Regions from separate parts of the Homo sapiens genome. Here region 1 is linked to region 2. Evidence: promoter capture Hi-C in 16 types of primary human blood cells and fetal thymus (Javierre and others, 2016). All regions are on one chromosome and are shown on one strand. Each heading gives the region's core, a stretch centred on a gene start or on the middle of the fragment in contact. The rest is flanking DNA. Distances are from core to core; before and after follow the strand shown. Region 1 overlaps RIMKLB (ribosomal modification protein rimK like family member B). Region 2 holds the start of PHC1 (polyhomeotic homolog 1).

The links. The method cuts DNA at HindIII sites, captures the fragments that hold promoters and counts their contacts. A CHiCAGO score of 5 or more calls a contact.
Region 1: a fragment that was not itself captured here is called in contact with the fragment with the promoter of PHC1 in region 2 in 4 of 17 cell types (naive CD4 T cells, non-activated CD4 T cells, naive B cells and 1 more); the score reaches 5.4 in naive CD4 T cells.

The regions. Positions count from the first base shown.
Region 1 is chr12:8,707,161-8,712,140 of GRCh38, forward strand. All of the region lies in intron 1 of RIMKLB (ribosomal modification protein rimK like family member B), which reads left to right. Among named protein-coding and RNA genes, the nearest start is that of RIMKLB, 12 kb to the left of the region's middle. The HindIII fragment of the contact is 4,798 bases long and covers 1,313-4,980 here.
Region 2 is chr12:8,913,093-8,918,010 of GRCh38, forward strand. It overlaps PHC1 (polyhomeotic homolog 1), which reads left to right and starts at 1,417. Exons shown (of 15, transcript NM_004426.3): 1 at 1,417-1,735; 2 at 4,538-4,699. The coding sequence starts at 4,586. RefSeq lists silencers at 1,299-1,408, 1,459-1,508, 1,579-1,868. The HindIII fragment of the contact is 8,234 bases long and covers 495-4,918 here.

The sequences.
Region 1 (4,980 bases), core at 2,462-4,961, 200 kb before region 2:
CAGCTAGGTGTCCTCTAATTTCTGACACTGTCTCCCACAGGTTAAGTGCTCAGTTGCCAAAACGACCCCGTACCATGCCCCCCACCAGTACAGGCCTCTGGACTTCAGCCAGAAGGCTGACTGGCTTTAAGTTGGAGTTCCCACCAACCCTGTCTTTGGGTTTGATTAATTTGCTAGAGCAGTTTACATAACTCAGGGAAACATGTTTACGTGTATGTTATAAAGGATACAGATGAAAAGGTGCCTAGGGCAAAGTATGGAAAAGGGGCACGGAGCTTCTTTGCCCTTCCTGGGTGCGTCACCCTCCAGGATCTGCTACGTGTTCAGCTATCTGGAAGCATTTTGAGCCCAATCCTTTTGGGTTTTTTGGAGACTTCGTTACACAGGCATGATTGATTAAACCACTGGCCACTGGTGATCAACTTGACTGTTAGCCCGTCTCCCGTCTCCAGAGGTTAGGGGATGAGACGGAAGGTTCCAACCCTCTAATCATGCCTTGGTCTTTCTGGTGACCAGCCTCCATACTAAAGCTGCCTAGGGGCTGCCAGCCATCAGTCAATTATTAGCATACAGAAAGACATCATTTTGGAGATTCTTATGATTTTAGGAGTTGTATGCCAGGAAACAGGGTTGAAGACCAAGTATATATTTTGTAATATCACACTTTTAAGAGACACAAATTTGTTATTTTTCTCCACAAACCTGATTCAACTCCCGTGATTCCTATCCAAGAGGGGATAGTGTTGAAAACAAGTCTTTAGTATTATTATTTTTTATCCTATGTACAGTCTTTCCCGAAGCAAGCCTGTATTAACTGACAAATGGAATAAATGCTATTAAAATTCTATCGTATGTTACAATAGAATTCTATACAGATTCCACTGTGTGTTACAGTAGAGTTCTATACAGATTCCACTGTGTGTTACAATAGAGTTCTATACAGATTCCATTATGTGTTACAGTAGAGTTCTATACAGATTCTATTGTGTGTTAGAGTTTTATACATATTCTATTTTATATTAGTGTATTTTTTTCCTTTAGCTTTATTTTTCTTCAGTATTTGGGATTTTGAGCTCATATGTTAATGGATTTTCTTAGTAAGAGGTACCTTAATATCTTCAGATGGTAGATTGTGATTTTTTGCTTTTTCTGTACTAGAATAAATACCTTTGGGAAGGGTCCTCACAAGAAAGATGAGAGGGAGAGAAATGACTTTCATTTTAACTTTTTTTCTTTTATTCTGTGATGTAATAGAAATCTTTTATGCTCTCATTTGTCCTCTGTACAGAATAGGTTGACACATCCTTTTGGAAGCTTTAAATATTTGTAATGTATTTTGAGATTTTGACTCTAAACATTGAACTTTTCCTTTGTTTATTAAGGAAATTTGATCCAGTAAGAAACAACACTAAGTTTTAGATCCCAGGATGTTGACTTGAAAAACTTTTAAAGTAGAAAAATTATTCCTCGGGTTGGTCTAATAAGGGAACTAAAAGTTGGGAGAAACAAAGTGGTACTTTCTAAACTATTACCTTAGAAAAAATTTAGGAAATCTTAAGCAGTGAAACAAATGTCTGCTTATTTCCTATTTCAGAAGATGAATGAAGCACTTTAAGATTCCCATATACTCAGTTTTGCCTGAGTATTCCAAGATGCAGTGCTGTTTTTTATTGGTATGCTGATCCAGAAGTTTGTGTGGGAAAACTCTCAAAAATAAACTCTCTTTGTAGAATTTCTCTTTATTTCAAAAAAGGTACTTTTGTCAGTAGTATTTATTCAGCATCTGATATTTATACATTGTTTTTCTTGATGCACTGGAGGAAATAAAGAGAGGATGGGATTGGTTGACCTGAGCTTACATTCTAAGAGAGGAAATACTATACGGTACTCATCTATACTATATGTGGACATTTGCAATTGCTGCGTTTATGTTTCGCTACTGGAGAATATTTTCTTACAGTTATCTTATTGGGTAACCAAGTTTACTCCTTTAAACTACTAGGAAAAAAGTTTGCCATTTTATTTTATAGAGGACTCTACTGTCTTTTAAAATAGTGAATATTGTCTGAATTTTAAGATTCTGGATCATTAGCAGGACTGTCATTTTATTGGTGCACTTTTGAGCTCCTGTACTATTTAGATTTACTGGAATCCTTTTGACTTGTCAGCATTTCTGTTTTTTCCTGTTTTTCTTTTTTCTTTATGTTAGCAGATGGGAAAAATAGAAAAGTAGATGTTTTGAAATTCTGTTAAGAGGAAACAGCTGTGCCCAAGGCTAGGAGAGAACCATTGAGGGGCAGAAGCAGGCAGGCACGCCTGGAGCCTCTACCTTTGGGATTGAAGTCTTCACCCAACACTTCTGGCATCTCAGATGTGAATCCAGTTGGAGCACCCCTAAGAAGGCAAGCAGCTGTTGCTGCAGCAGCCCTTGGGGAGGCCCCATCGCTTGGGCACCGAGGAAGGCTAGCCGCATGTCCTCCTGTGGGAATGGCAGTGTACCACTGGACAGGTTTCACTTTCCCTGGTTTCACTTTCTGTGGTTTCAGTTACGCCCTGACACAGTACAACAGGATATTTTGAGAGTGGGAGAGACACCGCATTCATATAACTTTTATCATAGTATATTGTTATAATTGTTCTATTTTATTGCTAACATCTTACTGTGCCTAATATGCAAATTATCATAGATATGTATGTTTAGGAAAAAACATAGTATATGTACTATCTGCAGTTTCAGGCATCCACTGGGGGTCTTGGAATTATCCCTTGTGGATATGGAGGGACTACTGTACCTGGTAATCAGAGATTTAATGTAGAAAAATGTGGTTTTTGTTTTGTTTTGTTTTGAGATGGAGTCTTGCTGTTTTCCAGGCTGGAGTCCAGTGGCATCATCTGGGGTCACTGCAGTTTCGACTTCCCAGATTCAAGTGATTCTCCTGCCTCCGCCACCTGAGTAGCTGGGTTTACAAGCATGCACCAACACACCCGGCTATTTTTTTTTTTTGTATTTTTAGTAGAGATGGAGTCTTAATCATGTCAGCCAGGCTGGTCTTGAACTCCTGACCTCAAGTGATCTGCCCACCTCAGCCTCCCAAAATGAACTACCGCTCCCCGCCAGTTTTGTTTGTTTGTTTGTTTGTTTCCTTCTTTTTTTTTTTTTTTTTTTTGATGGAGTTTCGCTCTGTCACCCAGGCTGGAGAGCAGTGGCACGATCTCCACTCACTACAACCTCCGCCTCCTGGGTTCAAGCGATTATCCTGCCTCAGCCTCCCGAGTAGCTGGGATTACAGGCATGTACTGCCACACCTGGCTCATTTTTGTATTTTTAGTAAAGACAGGGTTTTGCCATATTGGCCAGGCTGGTCTCAAACTCCTGACCAAGTGATCCGCCCACCTTGGCCTTCCAAAGTTCTGGGATTACAGGCAGGAGCCATCATGCCTGGCCTAGAAAAACATGTTGACTGAAGGCTTTGTGGCTCTTCAGAGGGGAATATTATTTTCTGATTTCAGAATCATCGGGAACACTGTTGTAGCCCATGTAATTTCTGACTACTGATGTATCAGCAGCGGAACATTTCTGCTTCCCAATTGCTAGTGACTATAACATTCCATCCTGACTGCTATTGGGGCAGCAACTGCCACACTCAGGTGAAGACCCACTGTGCAATGAAATTAATCATTGATTGGCAAGGCATGGTGGCTCACAGCCATAACCCCAGCACTTTGGGAGGCCAAAGTGGGAGGATTGGTTGAGGCCAGGAGTTTGAGATCAGTCTGGGCAACGTAGTGAGACCACATCTTTACCAAAAAAAAAAAAAAAAAAAAAAAATTAGAGACCGGGCCTGTTGGCTCACGCCTATAATTCCATCATTTTGGGCAACATGGCAAAACCCCATATCTACTAAAAAGAGAAAAGTACGAAAATTAGCTGGGCATGGTGGTGGGCATCTGTAATCCCAGCTACTCAGGAGGCTGAGGCAGGAGAATTGCTTGAACCCAGGAGACAGAAGTTGCAGTGAGCCAAGGTTGCGCCACTGCACTCCAGCCTGGGTGGCAGAGCAAGACTCCATCTCAAGGAAAAAAAAAAAATTAGCCTGATGTGATTTGCTCCTGTCATCTCAGCTACTTGGGAGGCAGAGGAGACAGGTGGATCACTTAGGCCGAGGAGTTTGAGGCTGCAATGGGCTATGATTGCACCACTGCACTCCAGCCTGGGTGACTGAAACCATGTCTCAGAAAGAAAAAAAAAATCATCTGCAAACGGATGAGTTTCAAGAGCCGAGTGTCAGGCCAAGGCACGGACATAGCTTCAGAGTGTTGGAAGTCAGTGACAGAGTCTTTTAATCACTACTGATTACAAACTTTTTTTTTTTATTATTATAAGTTTTAGGGTACATGTGCACAATGTGCAGGTTAGTTACATATGTATACATGTGACATGCTGGTGCGCTGCACCCACTAACTCATCATCTAGCATTAGGTATATCTCCCAATGCTATCCCTCCCCCCTCCCCCAAACATTTTAAGGGCATTTTTACAATTCCTTCATCAAGGGGAGCTGGGGATATTCTACGTCAGGTATTCTGGCGTGACTTTTTCTTTTGTGGAGCTTTGCTTTCTGAGACCTTCCCAAGTGGCCTGGAAGGCACTGTGTGGCTATAACTTTTTTCTAATGAGCATAGTATGTCTTTGGGTACAGCGTCTGGTCAGGGACACACTGTGGCCTTCCCTATGATTGTCCGCAGGGAAGAGACCGAAATGCAACCCATAAAAAAAGTCGTTCCATCAGGTTGAATTGACAGTGCAGGTTTGCACTGTACCTTTCCCATACTGTGGTTAAAATGGAAATCTCTTTTCAAGAAAAGTTTCATAGGAGAAAAAGTTTATCAGAAACACTCTGTTTAAGGAGGAGGGAGGATAAGGTTTACTGCCTGTAATATGCATGGAATATCCTGCTGTAGGGAAGCCATAGTGTTTATA
Region 2 (4,918 bases), core at 167-2,666:
CAAATCATCCTCAGCCAGTGCCTGTCATCCACGGCCTGGTAACACACCCTTTCACCTCCTCATACCCCGTGTCTTCGCTTTTCCAGTCCTTTGGCTGCCCTCCGGTTTCTTCCCTCACATACCTGTCTGACTAGTTCCTAGAAGCCTGGCAGAAATTGTTCTCCGATTTTAATCTGGCTGCCACAAATGAAAGACCTTGGAGTCCAAATACTCCTCTCTCAAAGCAAAATCTAAATGGATATAATTTATAAGCAAAGATAACACTTCTGTTTTTTTCTCTATAAACAAACCATGCATGGGCTTTTAAAGGAGAAAAGGAAGAGTGGATTGACAGAGAAAATAACTGTTTAGGATAGAGGTTAGGAAAAGACTGAGAGCAAGAGAAAAGGCATCAATCCCAGTTGTTAATCCACGAGGCATCCCCCAGACCCTTCTGTAAAGGTTAATGAAGGCAGTAAGGCAGTTATCTTTGTTTCGTGCACTGATGCAATCCAAGCTTCCACGGTTTAGCACATAGTAGACGCTCTATAAATATTTATTGAATGTTGAACGATGAGAGAGTAATTAAAAACCGGTAAGTTGATATCATAAATACAACGACAACGGCTCCCCTATCAAATGTTTAGTGTTCCCAGAGACAGCCCCATTGTTCTACATCTCGTTATACTCTGGCCTTTTCCCGTTTTTGTCATTCGAACTCATATACATATTGAAATCGAAGCACACACAAATCCCTGAAATGACAAACTTAAATGCTATCCAAAGGAAGTTACATTAGGTTGCTGCTTTGAAAATGAAGTCAACTCCTAATGGGTTAGCTGTTTCTGCAGCATTCTTTCCCGCCTTCTTGGAGTTGAGGTGAGGGATTAAACAATCAACCTTCTCTCTCCTTTCTCTCATTCTCAAAGTTTTTCTCGCCTTTTCCTTCCTTTCCTTTGCTTCATTTCTTTTCCCAGTCTATCGTTTCTCTAGGGGTCGTTGCTTTGCTCTTTCTCCCTCTCTGTCTGTTGGTCCCTTTGATCCTTTCTTTCTACCCCTTATTCCCAGCAGCTCCAGAAAATACCTTCTTTCTCCCCGTCTCACGTCACTTCCCTCCCTTCTCCCATCTCCCTCTCCTCTCCGAGAGGTGCGTTCCCCACTAGAGGCCAGCACTTTCTTAGTTTCGTCCTTCCAACCGGCGAGCAGAACTCGGAGAGAAAGAAGGGGGTAAAAAAGAGGAGAAAGAGAGCAAGAGAGGAAAAAACCCCTGGGCCTGGAGCGCAGAGGCCCGGGAGCTGCGTCGCCATGGCAACGGGCGCCGGCAGGAAACGAGGGACGCGCGGGAGGGAGGGGGCGGAGGGCGCCGAGGGGAGGCGGAGGGACGGCGGGGGGGGGGTCCGGCTGCCCCGGAAGCACCTCCCCGCAGCCCCCTCCTCCAGCCCGGCCCGCAGCCCCTGGCCTGCGGCCCCCACCTTCTCGGCCGGGCAGGAAGTGACAGGCCCGGAGCGAGCCCCGGAGGCCTGGCTGAGCCGCGGCCGGGCCCGCACCCGGAGCGGCGGGAGGGGCGGGGAGCCGCGGTCGCGCCGGGCGCCTCCCACCCCGCCCTCGGCGCCCCCGCCCCTCCAGGAAGGGGAGGAGGCGAGGGGAGCCCGCCGCGGAGGCCGAGCGAGCCCCCAGCCCAGCCTGGCGACTGGGGACCCCGGCACATGAGGTGGACGCCCCCGGGGAAGACTTGGGTGCACAGCCAGGCGAGAAGGTAACCGGGCGACCGAGGGCCGGGGAGGGGCAGGACCTCTGGGGGCTTGGCTGCGCGGGGATGTATCCTCAGCCACCTCCATCTGTGTAACGCCCCAGGTACCTCCCCCAGTTGCTTTCCCTGCCTACCTCCGGCGCTGAGCTCTGCGGTCCTTCGGCTCTGCCTGTCCGAGTCTTCTGGCTATTCATTCTGCTGCGCTTCATGCTGTCTGTCCGTCACCCTAGCTGCCTCTGACTGCTCATTTTCTTATTCATTTTTCCTTCTCTGACTTTGGTCCTTCCAGCCGAGCATGCTGTCTAGTTATCTCCCTGCTTTCGTGGTCCGCTGGGTTCCTCAGCCTCCAGTTCCTTGACTTCTGCCTCTGCTCTCTGTATGCACATGTCCCAGCTCACTTGGGTCAGTTCATTCCCGGCGCACCACTGGATCCACCCCCTTCCCCCAGTGTATTTGATTTCTCTTTGAAACATCATTTTCATCAAGGTTCTATATAGAACGAGGACCCTTGGGCGTCTACTCCCTGTTCTCTTGATTATTACCGTGTCTTTGGCACAGTCTTCCCTGAACCACCCCCTTCTCCCGTCCCCCTTCCTATGTCCCATCCTTTCTGCATGATAAGAGTTTCGTGCTTAGGGATATTGACTTTCTCCAACTCTCGGCCCAATGCTAAGTCCACCTCAATGTCCCATTCTAACTCCCTTCGGTAGGTCTGTGCGCCTACCCAACCCCATGTATGCCCACATGCTACCTTTTAAGATGACCATGGCTTAGCTACTCTGGGGGCATCTGTGGATCAGCTTCTCACTGTCTTCCAGTTTAATTTGGAAAATTTTGATACCTGGTGCTGCCCAAACTGTTTGTTGTCTCCATTTTTTATATTTAATCTTGTAGTCATAATGTTGATCACAAATGAATACATTTATGTGCCCGGGATCCAGGAATCCTGGTTTTGGTGGCAGTTTCCCTTGATTTTATTGAGACTTTTAAGTTGGTCCCTTTACATTTTTATTTCTAGTTCACAATCCAAAAAAAATTATTAATCAGAATTCAGGTTTGGGAAGACGAGGGGTCATACGGTTTGTATTTTCACATGTGAATGTAGGAATTATGTTCTCTATACCTAGCAAAGGGGTCTCGTGTCTCTGAGTCCAGTGAACTAAATCCAGTAATCTATAAAACTGTGCCGTGCTGCCTCTAATCCTTACCCACTTTTTTTCTTCACATGCTGATAATGAGGATTCATGGGTCTGTATCTGTTTAGTGCTTTGATATTTTGGCAAAAGATGTGGGGAGAAGGTAGACTAGTTGAAGCTGATATGATTTTTCCTATGTACTTTTTGGGTAATATACATGTTTGCAGTGACATTTGCTAGTCCTAAATGAAACTAAAGACTGGGGGGGGATAATAGTGTGATTGGATGATACTGGGAATGAGATAATAAGAAATATCCTCAGCTTTATTGCCAAGGCCAAGCAGTTTGATACTTTGCTTGTTTGTTTGTTTTGGATGCAATCCCTAAGACCAGTCCATTCACCCTAATGAAACTGTTGACAACACTTAGCAGAAATTCTGGTTTGATGTTTATATTCTTAAGCCAGATAATATTTTGGTGACCTGATATTTCTAGTGGCCCAGTGCCTCAGAAGTAGAGAAAATAGTGTGTAGCTTAACAAAAGAGAAAAACAAAAAAAAAGAATGAGTAAAAACCTTATTGTCATTTAGTGCTGCTTTGGAAGAATATTTCTTCTTCTCATCTCCTGCCTCTTTGCTTGGTTCTTAGCAGTGTTTTCATATGTGTCTTTTTGCAAATGTAAGTGTAGTCCCCAGTGGGTAAATTCTGACATGTTAGTAGATTATAAAGTTGCATCTTACTTTCTTGAAGATTTTCATTGTGTGTATTTCTATGTTTCATACTCCGGAGTCATTTCTTAAAATGATATATTACATTCAGTATGAAGCCTCCTTTGCAGTGAGGAAACAGGTATAAGGAAGGAAAGCAACATGCCTGAGGTGTTATTAGTAGCCTGAGCTGGAACCAGGCAGCTATTTGGGCTATGTGGGCTGTAGGTGAGCTCTTCTGCTTCCTAGTTTTATGACCTTCCATGACCCACTGAATGTGTCTGTATCTTAAGGTCCTCCTCCATAAAATGAGGATAACTACTCACTATCATAGTGAATGACACTGCCTTAATTACAGTTTGGTTTGAAGAAGCATGTGTTAGTCCAAAGACTTGATACTTACTAGGGCAACTTCTTTAACCTCAGAAAACCTTATGTCTCAAATTGTAGAATGAGGATAACAGTGTTGACTTTACAGCACTACTATGAGAGAGATACAGCATAGGTGAAGTGCCTAGCCCAGTGAAAGGAGGCAACTAGTGGCTCTCCAGTATATGGTGACTCATTTGGATGATAACGATGCAGATGGAGACAAAAATGAGATAACCAAAACTTTTAAGTGGAAAGATTTTAAACTGTTAAAAAATGCTATGGGAATGTAAGGTAACTTTGGTATTGTAAGGTGCCATCTCACATTCTGGCCGTTTTATTTAATGACAGCCATGAGGGAATACGTAAAGGTTGTTTCTTTTGAGACTGCATAGCTTCAAAAGATGGTAGTATTGGGAAGACATGGTTGCAAGAGTGTATTGAAGATTTGGGAGTTTTAAGATGAGAAATCATGGCTTATGGAAGAGGAGGAAGATTCTTAGATACTTATGGATTTCCTGTGTTTTTGAATAATAACATGAGATAACAGCTTGGGATCAAGATATAAATTTTAACCTTTTACTGCTTCCCTCTAGGTCTTGAGTCAGACAGAGCACCAGCCTTGGGGACCCTGGACCACTATCATGGAGACTGAGAGCGAGCAGAACTCCAATTCCACCAATGGGAGTTCTAGCTCAGGGGGCAGCTCTCGGCCCCAGATAGCTCAAATGTCACTTTATGAACGACAAGCAGTGCAGGTGAGACTCAGCTCTGAGGGGCCATGGTCTGTGAGTCTTGGCTTGTGGTAGGCAGTGATGCTGGAAAATAATTGTACTCAGTTCTTTTTCAACAAACTGGGGAGAGTTGGGTTAGATGATGACTAAGCTGTCTTCCAGCTCTGAGAATCTTAGGAGTTTACAAATGTTTAGGCAAGCAAACAGTGAAATCTGGTCTTTCAAATAAGGATTTAAAAAACA